Regions from separate parts of the Homo sapiens genome. Here all the other regions are linked to region 2. The links are contacts of gene promoters, found by promoter capture Hi-C in blood cells and fetal thymus (Javierre and others, 2016). All regions are on one chromosome and are shown on one strand. Each heading gives the region's core, a stretch centred on a gene start or on the middle of the fragment in contact. The rest is flanking DNA. Distances are from core to core; before and after follow the strand shown. Region 1 has its middle 12 kb from the start of TBC1D9B. Region 2 holds the start of RNF130 (ring finger protein 130). Region 3 holds the start of RASGEF1C (RasGEF domain family member 1C).

The links. The method cuts DNA at HindIII sites, captures the fragments that hold promoters and counts their contacts. A CHiCAGO score of 5 or more calls a contact.
Region 1: a fragment that was not itself captured here is called in contact with the fragment with the promoter of RNF130 in region 2 in 3 of 17 cell types (M1 macrophages, M2 macrophages and M0 macrophages); the score reaches 7.9 in M1 macrophages.
Region 3: the fragment with the promoter of RASGEF1C here is called in contact with the fragment with the promoter of RNF130 in region 2 in 8 of 17 cell types (M0 macrophages, monocytes, M1 macrophages and 5 more); the score reaches 11.7 in M0 macrophages.

The regions. Positions count from the first base shown.
Region 1 is chr5:179,918,166-179,921,881 of GRCh38, reverse strand. It overlaps a transcript of RNF130 not described here. Among named protein-coding and RNA genes, the nearest start is that of TBC1D9B, 12 kb to the right of the region's middle. The HindIII fragment of the contact is 1,203 bases long and covers 774-1,976 here.
Region 2 is chr5:180,070,298-180,074,180 of GRCh38, reverse strand. It overlaps RNF130 (ring finger protein 130), which reads left to right and starts at 2,422. Exons shown (of 9, transcript NM_018434.6): 1 at 2,422-2,725. The coding sequence starts at 2,479. RefSeq lists a silencer at 2,072-2,151 and an enhancer at 2,041-2,748. The HindIII fragment of the contact is 6,319 bases long and covers 1-3,883 here.
Region 3 is chr5:180,207,445-180,211,307 of GRCh38, reverse strand. RASGEF1C (RasGEF domain family member 1C) reads left to right here and starts at 2,097. Exons shown (of 14, transcript NM_175062.4): 1 at 2,097-2,280. RefSeq lists a silencer at 1,962-2,181 and an enhancer at 3,306-3,863. The HindIII fragment of the contact is 1,452 bases long and covers 1,115-2,566 here.

The DNA.
Region 1 (3,716 bases), core at 126-2,625, 150 kb after region 2:
CCTGGCTAATTTTTTGTATTTTTAGTAGAGACGGGGTTTCACTATGTTGGCCAAGCTGGTCTTGAATTCCTGATCTCGTGATCCACCCACCTCGCCTTCCCAAAGTGCTGGGATGACAGGCGTGTGGCGCGATCTTGGCTCACTGCAACCTCCACCTCCTGGGTTCAAGCGATTCTCCTGCCTCAGCCTCCCAAGTAGCTGGGACTACAAGCACATGCCACCATGCTCAGCTAATTTTTGTATCTTAGTAGAGACAAGGTTTCACTACGTAGTTGAAGCTGGTCTTGAACTCCTGATCTCAAATGATCCACCCGCCTTGGCCTCCCAAAGTGCTGGGATTACAGGCATGAGCCACCACACCCAGCCAGGACCATCTTAGAACAGCCTGGCAGTTTCTGAAAAAGTTCAGTTTTTGCAGTAATTTCAGTTCTGAGTATTTACAGGTCTAGGAGATGTGAAAGCATATGTTCACACAATTTATGTGCACAGATGTTCTAGCAACTTTATTTGTAAGAGCCAATATATACTATGCAATTCTACTTATATAAAATTCTAGAAAGATGCAAACTAATCTATGTTTCCCTGGCAATAGGAGTAGGGTAGAAAGAAGGGCAAGGGATTGAGAGGCACCAGGAAACTTTGGGGTAATGGATATGTTCGTTATCTTGATGGTGGTGTCGGTGTCACTGGCCTATACAGCTGTCAGAACTCACCAAATGATGTACTTTAAACATGTGCTTTTCATTGTATGTCAGTTATACCCCAGTAAAGCTTAAAAACAGTTTTATAGAAAAGGAAATGTAAGCACAGCTCAGCTTTGAGTAGCACAGATAGTCAAATAATGTAACTATGGAATTTTAAAATCAAAATATAATTATATTGGGGCAATGGAAAGTATGTGCAATTTGGGTGCGGGGGTTAGGAGAAAATCCTCATCTTCCACAGTGGGAATTCAGTAGATAAAGTCTAAGACTGAAAAAAATTCGGAAGGATCAACATAGGCATATTAGGTTGCAGTGAGCCAAGATCACACTACTGCACTCCAGTCTGGGCAACAAAAGCAAAACTCCATCTCAAAAAAAAAAATATATATATATATATAAATATATATGCCCAGATGAGAGGGCTGGGGGGCAGTCCTCCATAAGATCATGTGCCCAGGAAGAAGTCTTCACGTTTCTAAGTGGAACCCTTTTACGAGCACCAGGCAGCTTTTGCTTTGAGGAGCTCCAGTGGTTAGTCTCTTGGGGATCCGAAGATTGGAACTTAGATGCTTAAAGCCTGCGTGAATTGAAGGATGCCCGCACTTTTTGTATCTCTCTAATAAGAGCCCCTTATGAAGGATAGTTAAGAAAATGTCATGCTTCAAAGATAATCTGCATTGTTTCCTCCTAGCCATGTGAGAAACACAAGCCTGGTGACCTATTAAGTCTCTTTCTCTTCTTCCTTTTCCAGGTGGTCACTTCTTTCATCGAAACTCCTTGTCCCCTCGGAGTCTGGTGTATGAAAGTGAATTCTCCACCATCGAACCTTCTTTGGACATGTATGATGAGAACAAAACCTGAATTTTAAACATGGCCTGGCTGTTGGGGTCACTGCTTTTGTGATTTGATTTCTGATCACCTTTCTTATTTTGTATTCTCCTGTCAGCATCCGTTTTGGAAGAATGGCAGCACTTTCCAAGCACAGGTTGGGGTTCAGGGTTAATTTGCAAAGTTCCCCCAAGGTGAGGCTTTGAGGACAGTAGCATTGCCCAGGTGAGCCTTGTGGTATTGAAAACCCGCCCAAGCTGATCATTGAAGGTGGGCGCCCAGCAAGGCTGGCTGTTTCCAGAGAAGAGGCCGGGCCCAGGATTAATGTTGCATTGCAGACGCATCTCTGAACAATCACATGCTGTTCTGCACCAGGGAAGCTGGGGTTTTTAACATCCTTTTGTGGTCCCTGCTTACGATGCATACTGCCCTGTGGGAGAAGCTTCCTACCCGCGTGGAGTACAGGTGCTGCTCCCTGACCTGGCTCTGGATGTTCCCCTCTCGCTTATTCTACTTCCTGCTGAAGGGCCCCTTCTAAAGGGGGTTGAGAGAAGGCCTTGCCTTTGTATCTCCTCTGAGACTCTGACCACCCACTTCCTGCCAGGGCAGGGCCGTGGGAGACCCAGGCCGTGGGGCCGGGTCTGTGTGCGGGGCCAGGCAGCCGTCTGCGTCGCTGTTTTCCAGCCTCCGTGTTGAGCATGACGTAAAGTGACAAGTGTTTAAGTCAGCACGAAAACACTGAAGGCCCCTCCGTCCCTGCAGCCTGTGAACACGTCTACTCGGCCACCCGTCAGTATAGGGAGTGTGTGTATAGGGAGGTGGCACCTGGGAGCCCAGCCCAGCAGTGTCTCTGGGCACAGTGATTTCAGGGGGATGGCCAGCAGTTGTGAAAGACAGAATGATCTGGAATGTCTCATTGGGAAGACCAAACCCCCTTCTCGCTGCAGATACCAGATAAGCACCCATCTTCACTGTCCACTGTGCAGCCCAGTCCCCTCCAGCAGCCCCAGCACAGCATGAAGAAGGCACATGAGCACCGGCCGACAGGCTTACAGGACAGGGTGCAGTGGCCAGCATCCCAGGCATCAGGGACATGTGGGATCTTCCCACACACCTGGGATGACATCGAATTAACATGATGAGAAAATTGCATCTTACTGCTAATCCCAGTACAGAACCACTATGGGCAAATTTATAAAACTAATCTGCACACCCTCTTTGCAAAAGGACACACCTGAGTTGAGTCTGCCTCTCATTGGCATGAGCTTTGTGGGGGCGTGAGGCGCACAGACCCTTGCTGTGAGAACAGGAACCCCAGTCTCCACATGCCCAGGGTCAGATCCGACAGCAAACGAAGCAGATGCGTGAATCCCCTGCCCTGTTCTCACTGACTGTGGAATATACGTTTGAAGTGAACACTTGCCATTTTTCCACGTGCAGCTTCTCCTAAAGTGTCTTTTCTCCTAACGCGTCAATAACGCCTCAGACACAGGTGTGCCTGAAGGAAACCTGCAGAGCCCCGGATGGGGACAGGCTTCAGGAGCATTGTCAGAGAGCGGGCAGCGGCATTTCGTTTTCGCTCATTTGAGGCTAGAATGGTGCAGATTTTAAAGGTCTTAGCAGCTTTTGTGTTTTACCTTTTACCAAGGGCTTTGGGGGTTTTTTTGTTTTGTTTTTCTTTATGATAGTCTTCGTACTATAAAAATATTTTCAATGAGCAGCTTCAATATAGCATCGTTCAGAAAAGCAGGTTTCCCCATTGGGCTCTCAGAGAGAGGGTGAGTCTGCAGGAAGCTGGAGCCCATTTGCTGGAGGTTCCAGACACGCGTCTGCATTTGTATGTGTTTGACCCACCTGAAAGGTAGGAGAGCTCAGTTCGGATCATTGCCGTGTTGTCTATACCACCTCCTTGTTTTCCCAAACCAAAACGCAGATCCTGATGTAGCATTTTCTCCTGATTTGAGGTCTTACCAATGTGTATACGTTAAATTCCACTCAAGACAGTTTCTTTACTGAAAAGGTATGAAATTACGTGAGAAGAAGTACAAATTTCAGGCCCCTAGAATCTGTCTATTAATATAACATTTGAATTTCTGGGAAATCTGGGGCACACATTCACGGTAGAATAACAAGGAGGCATTGCTTGCAGGGGAGCGTACTCAGAACAGTGCTGTGGATCCTGGC
Region 2 (3,883 bases), core at 1,173-3,672:
TCAGCAAGTGCCAGGGAAGTGTTAAAGGTGCTCTGGAACCAATTTTCTCCTTGACAAATTCAGAAGGGTTGAGAAAGCCACTTCCTCCCCACCTGATTAACAAAGTGGTGCTTGTGAGCTTCTATAATTGTTTCTTGTGCCAGGGGTCATGGGCACCTTACAGTTTGAAGACTCCTCCTTTATAAGGACAAAGGAGTAGAGGCCATGAGCCTCTTGGGCAGGGGTAGGCCAGGGCATGCCCAGCAAGAAGAGCAGGAGACCGTCACCGGGAAGAGCCCTACACAGGCCCTAGATGTGGCCCTGGGCTGTGGGGAGAAGGAATTTCTGGGTCTTAGGTGCTAGAGCATGGGTACCTTGGTGCTAAGGACTCCTTGCCCTATGAAGGGTCCAGCTGGAGGGGACCAGATTAGAGCACTCTTTAGGTGCCAGGCCCAGGGCGAGGACCCCGCTGCTTTGGCCTAGGGTCTGTACTTGCCGAGGATAAGTAAATAAGTAAAAGCCGTTCTCCATAGGCCAGGGCACGGTTTATAAGGACTATGGTAGAGGATGGAAGAGAGGGAAATGGAGGGAGAAATTGTAAAGGATGTCTGCCAAGTCATCAATAGTGGACATCTGTTTTCTTTCTTTTTTCTTTTTCTGAGACGGAGTCTTGCTCTGTCGCCCAGGCTGGAGTGCAGTGGCTCGATCTCTGCTCACTGCAACCTCCGCTTCCCGGGTTCCAACGATTCTCCTGCCTCAGCCTCCCGAGTAGCTGGGACTACAGGCACGCATCACCACGACTAATTTTTTTATTTTTAGTAGAGACGGGGTTTCACCATGTTGGCCAAGCTGGTCTCGAACTCCTGACCTCGTGATCCGCCCACCTAGGCCTCCCAAAGTGCTGCGATTACGGGCGTGAGCCACCGCGCCTGGCCAGTGGTGGGCATCTTAAGTTTTAGCCTGCACTGCATCCGTACCCTTTCCTGGAAACAGTGCCTCAAATTTCTTTTTGGGGAGCCACCTCTTTTCCGGATTTTCAGAACATTTGGTTGTGCAAAGCTGACTCCACCCACTTCCCGCAGTAGGAGACAGGAGACTCAACCCTGGCTGGTCAGAAGACGCCAAACTTTCCCCCTCCGCCTCCCCACAAAGATCCTGTAAGTTCCTGAATTCGGCTGCACTGCCCCATTCTTCCTTTTAGCTGATACTTTATAGCGATGTGTATCTTTTAAACGCCATGGAGAGAGAAAATGAGAGTCGTGTGTGTGTGCGCGCGCGCGCGTTTCGGAAGGTGGAGGGGGGGTTCCCACTGCAACCCTCTGGTCCGGGGGCCCCTGGAGTAGTTCACCTAGTCACTAGAGCAGGGGCTCCCCAACCGCCCGGCCGCGGACCTGTACCGGCCCAGGGCCTTCGAGGAACCAGTAAGCGAGCAGGAGGTGAGTGAGCATCACCGCCTGAGCTCCGCCTCCTGTCAGATCAGGGCGGCATTAGACTCTCATAGCAACGTGAACCCGGCTGTGAACTGCGCATGCTTGGGACCTAGGTTGCCCACTTCTTACGAGAATCTAACGCCTGATGATCTGAGGTGGAGCAGCCTCATCCGGAAACCACTTCAACTCCCTCAGTCCCTGGAAAAACTCTCTTCCTGGAAACCCGTCCCCCAGTGCCAAAATGGTTAGGGACGGCTACCCTAGAGGTCTTTCCCAACCACTCGTGTCCCTGCAGGTCCGGGCCAGAGACATCCCCCATCCATGATGTCAACCGCATGACGTGAATGTTAAATCTCATGACATTTAATTTTAAACATTTCTTTTAAAGTTATGGCTTTTTTTCCTTTGTAGTCTGTTCTCACACATTTCCATACGTCCTCGCAAATCTCCCGGGCTCCACGCCCTGCGGCTATCACGCCTGACAGAGAAACAACCAGCACCAGCGGCTGACCCGGCTGCCCGGGCCCTCGTGCAGGCGGGCGGGAGCGGACAGGCCCTGGCACGCATGCGCTCGGGGCGGGACTGCGCCTTAGGCCTGCGCGTTGCCGCTAGACCAGCGGGGGGGCGGGGCGGCGGCGGACACGCGCCTCAGGCGGCAGCCGCGCGAGAGGGACTTTGTGTTCCGCTGACCCTCCTCGGGGCGCTTCCTCCCGTGCCGCCCTTCCCCTCCCCCGCCGCGTCCTTGCGAGGCGCCTCCCATTCGGTGGGACCGACCCGGGGGGATGGAGGGGGCACGCTTCTACAACCCTCCTGGGACCCCGAAGAGACGCCCGCGTGCGACCTGAGACGCCGCCCTCGCCGAGGGCCCATGGGCGCGTCCCCACAGGCGGGCAGTGGACGTGAGGGCGGCGAGCGGCGGGGCCGCGGCGTCCAGGAGGGCCGCGCTCGGGCTCGGCCCCGCGCAGGCCGCGCGCGCGCGCTCCCGCCGCCGCCCGGGCCGCGCCCGCCCCGCCTCTAGGCGCCGGCCCCGGAGCCCGGTCCGCGAGCAGCGGCGGCTGCCGGAGGGACGATGAGCTGCGCGGGGCGGGCGGGCCCTGCCCGGCTCGCCGCGCTCGCCCTGCTGACCTGCAGCCTGTGGCCGGCACGGGCAGACAACGCGAGCCAGGAGTACTACACGGCGCTCATCAACGTGACGGTGCAGGAGCCCGGCCGCGGCGCCCCGCTCACGTTTCGCATCGACCGCGGGCGCTACGGGCTTGACTCCCCCAAGGCCGAGGTCCGCGGCCAGGTGCTGGCGCCGCTGCCCCTCCACGGAGGTGAGTGCCGGCCCGGGGGCGGCGGGCGGTGGTCGCTGCATCCCGCGTAGGCGGCGGGACTAGGGTTCCCGGCCCCGGCTCTGGCCCTGGCTCTCCCGCGCTGCCCGGCCGACAGCCCCAGCCAGGGTCGAGGCTTCCGTCGTGGACAGCCCGGCCTGCTCCCGTGGGAACCAGGCTCCAGGAGCGTGACTGGGTTTTTCCCTTCTTTTAAAAAAGACTTGGAACGGTCATCTTTGCGTTCAGGCAGCTCGTTTGCTGGAGGGCATTGAGCTAGGAGTTTGCAGGGACAGCGTAGACAAAGGAGGTGGTGCAAGAGCGCAAAACTACTTCATGGGGAGGACGTCTCAGCCTGTATTTTGGAAGCGGCAGGTTCCTCAAATCACGGACTTAAGGCTGCGCTAGATCTGGAAGGATGCGGCCCTTTTCTAATATAAAAACGTGCCGTTTTTCTTAAGTGGTAAATTGGGGGGGGGGTGTAAATGGAAAATGGACATCTTCCCTGTTGCTTTTGGCTCTTGTTCTTGCCCTAGTAGTTTTACTGTAATTTGACGCCTGAAAATGTCACATTATGAGGATCTGACACTAATCGGAACTACTAGCCAAGGCTTTTCAGGTCACGGGTGCCGACCAAAAGGGAAATAGGTAAAATTTTCAAGAATTGTCTTTGAAACCATTCGGCTTAATGTCATGTTTTCCTATGAACAAGGACTTTGTTTAGTTGATTATTTGGTGTAAACATGTATTTGTTTAAATTATTAGTCATGGTTTGAAAGAAACCTTTTGCACATCGTGGAATATGATTTTTTGGGTTTTGGCCCACGCTGAACTTTTGGGAGATATCTGCCATTATCCCCACCCTCATTGTCACCCTGAGAATGCTGAGAGGGGATTTTTCTTTTCTAAACTGCTGTTCATGTTAGGATGACCTAAAGTAGGCAACCTAAATAAAGTCATGATTTGCTTGTACACTCTTAAGATACTAACATATTATGCCCCTCTGAGGTCTGTATTTGTATGCCAAAGTGCTAAGCTGTTTTCTTCTTTGAGACAGTCTGGCTGGGGAAAAATAATCACATAAGGCTTTTACTGTAGCCTGTCCGCAACTCAGACTAGGCTTTGAAAAGTCCGTTTTACACCAGTAATCAGGTGCTTAAGGTG
Region 3 (3,863 bases), core at 848-3,347, 140 kb before region 2:
GCTGAGTGGGTCAGCTCTTCTGAGGTGCCTCTTGCGGCCTCTCCTCCTAGACTCCTGGCTTCCTCCAGGCGACACCCTGGGACTGGACCTGAGGCTTAGGGGCATAGGGTGATAATCGGAGAAGATGCAGGGAGGGCCCAGTGCCTGCACCCTGAGGCGCATCTGTCTATCTGCTGGGAGCACACTGCTCACCCCTGACCAAGTGCCTGCCTCTGTTCCTCCTCCCTTTCCCCACACCTGACCCTTGGTCTCAGATGTCACCCTCCCTAGGGCCAGCCTCTGGCCCTGGCCCTGGCCCCAGCCCTGCTGTCTCCCTGCCTAGCTACCTGGCCCACATTCATTCTAATACATCTGTATGCCCTAGGCAGCTGCCTGCTCTCTCCAGGACTCAGTTTCCCTAACTGTTCAAGAAATGGGCTGGACTGTTGTTCTTAACCTGTCCATTCTTCCAGGAACAGCCTTCACGGAAGCTTGGAACAGCACCTTACTCCATCCTCAAAGCTGACACAGGACTAACTCTGCCTCAGCTCTAGTGAGACGACACCCAGGCCTGCTATTCCTGCTCCCTAGGTCTTTGGAAATGGCCTGAGCTCAGCTCCTCGGAGCCTGTGTGTGGCAGCCGCAGGCTGTCCTTGCAACTATCAGGCAGCTGTGCCCTCTCTGAGGTGTCAACCCAGGGCCATTCTGCCACAGAAAGACTGGGAGATAGGGGAGGCCAGTTTCTATGCACATAGGTTAAGTACCTGGATCTAGCCATTCCTCTAAGCAGTAAACCTTGGCTTTTTATGATCCACAAACCAGCTTTTTGCTCAAGCTGGTTGGGTTGAGTTTTGGGCCACATCTCATCAGGCAGGTCCTGACTAAAGCAGAGTGAGGTGAAGGCAGCTGGAACTTCCGTGTCGGGTGGGGACTTGGAGAACTTTTCTGGCTAGCTAGAGGATTGTAAATGCACCAATCAGCACTCTGTAAAAACGCACCAATCAGCACTCCGTGAAACGGACCAATCAGCAGGACATGGGTGGGGACAAATAAGGGAATAAAAGCTGCCCGCCCACCCCTCGCCAGCCAGCAACAGCGGCGACCGGCTGTGGTCTTTTTCCCTGCTGTGGAAGCTTTGTTCTCTTGCTCTTCACAAGACATTTTGCTGCTACGCACTCTTTGGGTCTGCACCACCTTTTTCTTTTCTTTTCTTTTTTTTTTTTTTTGAGATGGAGTCTTGCTCTGTCGCCCAGGCTACAGTGCAGTGGTGCAATCTCTGCTCACTGCAAGCTCCACCTCCCCGGGTTCACGCCCTTCTCCTGCCTCAGCCTCCCGAATAGCTGGGACCACAAGCGCCCACCACCAAACCTGGCTAATTTTTTTGTATTTTTAGTACAGACAGGGTTTCACCGTCGCACCACCTTTAAGAGCTGTAACACTCACTGCCAAGGTCCCTGGCTCATTCTTGAAGTCAGCCAGACCAGGAACCCAGCGGAAGGGACAAACTGCGGACACAGGAGGACAGGTGTCCTGACCTCTATGCTGGGACCAACCAGGGAACTTTTCACTGAAGACCCAGTTCAAGGAGGCCACTGGATCCTGTTAGAGCCCCTCTCCCTTTCTAAAAGTGAAATCATGCATCGCCATCCTCCCAGAACCCCGGTGTCTTCAAAGTGGTGTCCACCCTCCCTGGGGGCCACGGGAGAGCGCCGAGAAGGTTGGGGAGGGGGGGTGTCCACCCAGGGATGTCCCATTGGGGGACACAGACAACCTAGGTGGCCAGTCCAGAGAACCGGGCCGGGCCCAGTCTTGAGGAGAGAGGGTGAACTGGGTTTTGGGGCGCCAGAGGCCCACCAGGTGAGGTGTAGGCTGGGGCAGCTGGGGCGCAGAGTCCGCCAGGGTCCGCGCGCGGGAGGGCAGCGTCTGACGGCCCGAGCGGGTGGTCCTGGCGCGGGGGGCCAGCCGCCGCGGAGGCCTGAACGCAGGGCGGGACGCTTGGCTCCGCGGCCGGGGCACGGAGGGCCCTGGTGTGCAGCGCCGCCCGCGGGCTCCCGCAGCTCCACCCCCGCGCCCCGCCCGCTCCGCGCTGCCTGAGTGCCACGAGGGGGCGCAGCGCCGCGTTGCTCCGGGGCCGCCGCCAGGCGCTCGTGCGGGCTGCGCTGGGAGCCGGGCGGTCGGGCGGCGGCGGCGGCGGCGGCGGCGGCGGCGGCGGCGGCGGGCGGCGCCCCGGTCCGCGGCGCCGAGGCTCGCACCGGGAGCTGCCCATGGGCCGGGCCCGGAGTTCCGGCGCGCCGGGAGCCGGTGAGTGGTGCGCGGCCGAGGGACACCTGGCGGTGCGGGCAAGGGCGCGGGCTCGCGGGGGCTGGGGAGGGCTGCCGGCGGCGCGGCGGGGTCGGCGGGAGGCGGGAGGCTGCGCGCGGCGCGGGAGCGTGCGCCGGGGTCAGCAGGGGCGGGGTCCGCGCGGCCGCCGGGACTGGAGGCGCGGGGGTAGCGGGTAGGGTACCCTGAGGGCACACCCCCGGCCACCTGGCGGGAGACCCAGCTCTGCCGCGCGCCGCCAGCCCCTGCTGGGCGCGAGGAGCAAGCTTCTTTCAGCCGCTAGAGTGGCAGGAAGAGCCAGCCTAGACCAAAGCCTCCACCCGCACCGGACCTCAGTTTCCCCGTCTATGAAATGGGGACGGGAAAGCAGACCTGCCGGTGCACGTGCAGAAGGGAAAGGGCCTTGCGCCTGGGGGAAGAGGGTGCTGTCACCCTTGAGGATGGGATCGGATTTGAGGAAAGGACCAGCGCCACTATCAGAGGGCCTGCGAGAACAGTGGGGTCTGCTGGGAGTCCTGGGTGTGTCCCTCACGCAGTGACAGCGGACGGCATCAAGGGACCACCTGGTCCACTCATTGTATTTAGATTGGGAAAGCGATGCTTGGGGGGACTTGGGGAAGGGTGCTGGCGACGCCGCCCCATGCTCAGCGTGGGCGTGGGAAACTGTGGGAAAGACAGAGCTGGGAAGTTGGGGTGCTGGTGGAGCTCTTCCGGGCCCGTATCTCCTGCCTCCTGGGGCTGTGGGAGAGACAGAAGTTCTGAGCCCCGGGAGCCTGAGAAGAGTCCTGGGAAGCTCTGCCTGCCAGGCAGGTGGAGTAACTGAGGTTTAGAGAGGGGCGGGACCATGGAGTGGCAACGCTGGGGTCCCACCTCTGGTAAGACTGGCTCCAACAGCCATAGTGCAGCCACTGTGCAGGCGACCGGTGGAGGGGGGCTAGGGTTGTCCACTCACTGGCCACATTCATTGAGCGCCTACTGTGTGCCGCCTGCTGCCTGCCCCCGTAAGTGCTCACTAGCTGGTGTGGGAGGGGACACCAAACAAGAAATCAAAGGCAAAAGCAAGGACATGGCCAAGATCTTATGCGTGCTGGGAAGAACATGCAGTAGGGTGACTGGGGCAGAGGGAGACCAGGGCGCGGCGGAGCCTTCGTCTGGTCAGGGAGGCTGTCCTGAGCGGGGAGCCCAGCCTGTGATGGACGGGTAGCCCGGGGGAACAGCGCGGGTGAGATCCCTGAGGGCAGGAGGGGGCGGAGCTGGAGCTGAGACGCTACAGGGTCTGGACGTCCTGGGCAGCCCCCAGGCGGTTTGCAGGTTGGGCGTCGAAAGGCTGCCCGTGGCGGCGGGTGGGCGCACTGCCGGGGCAGGAGAGGGAGGGCAGGCGAGAGAGGGACGGGCTGCGGAGCCCAGGGCGGGACTGGCGAGGGGGAGCCCGCAGGCCACCAGGTAGAGGTGGGGCCCTGCCCGGGACCTGGCCCTTTTCAGGCCGGGGTCTGCACCCTCCTGCCATGTCCCCGCCAGTCTCTGAGGTGGTTCCAGCTCTCACTTGTACCTGGACCCAGATCCAG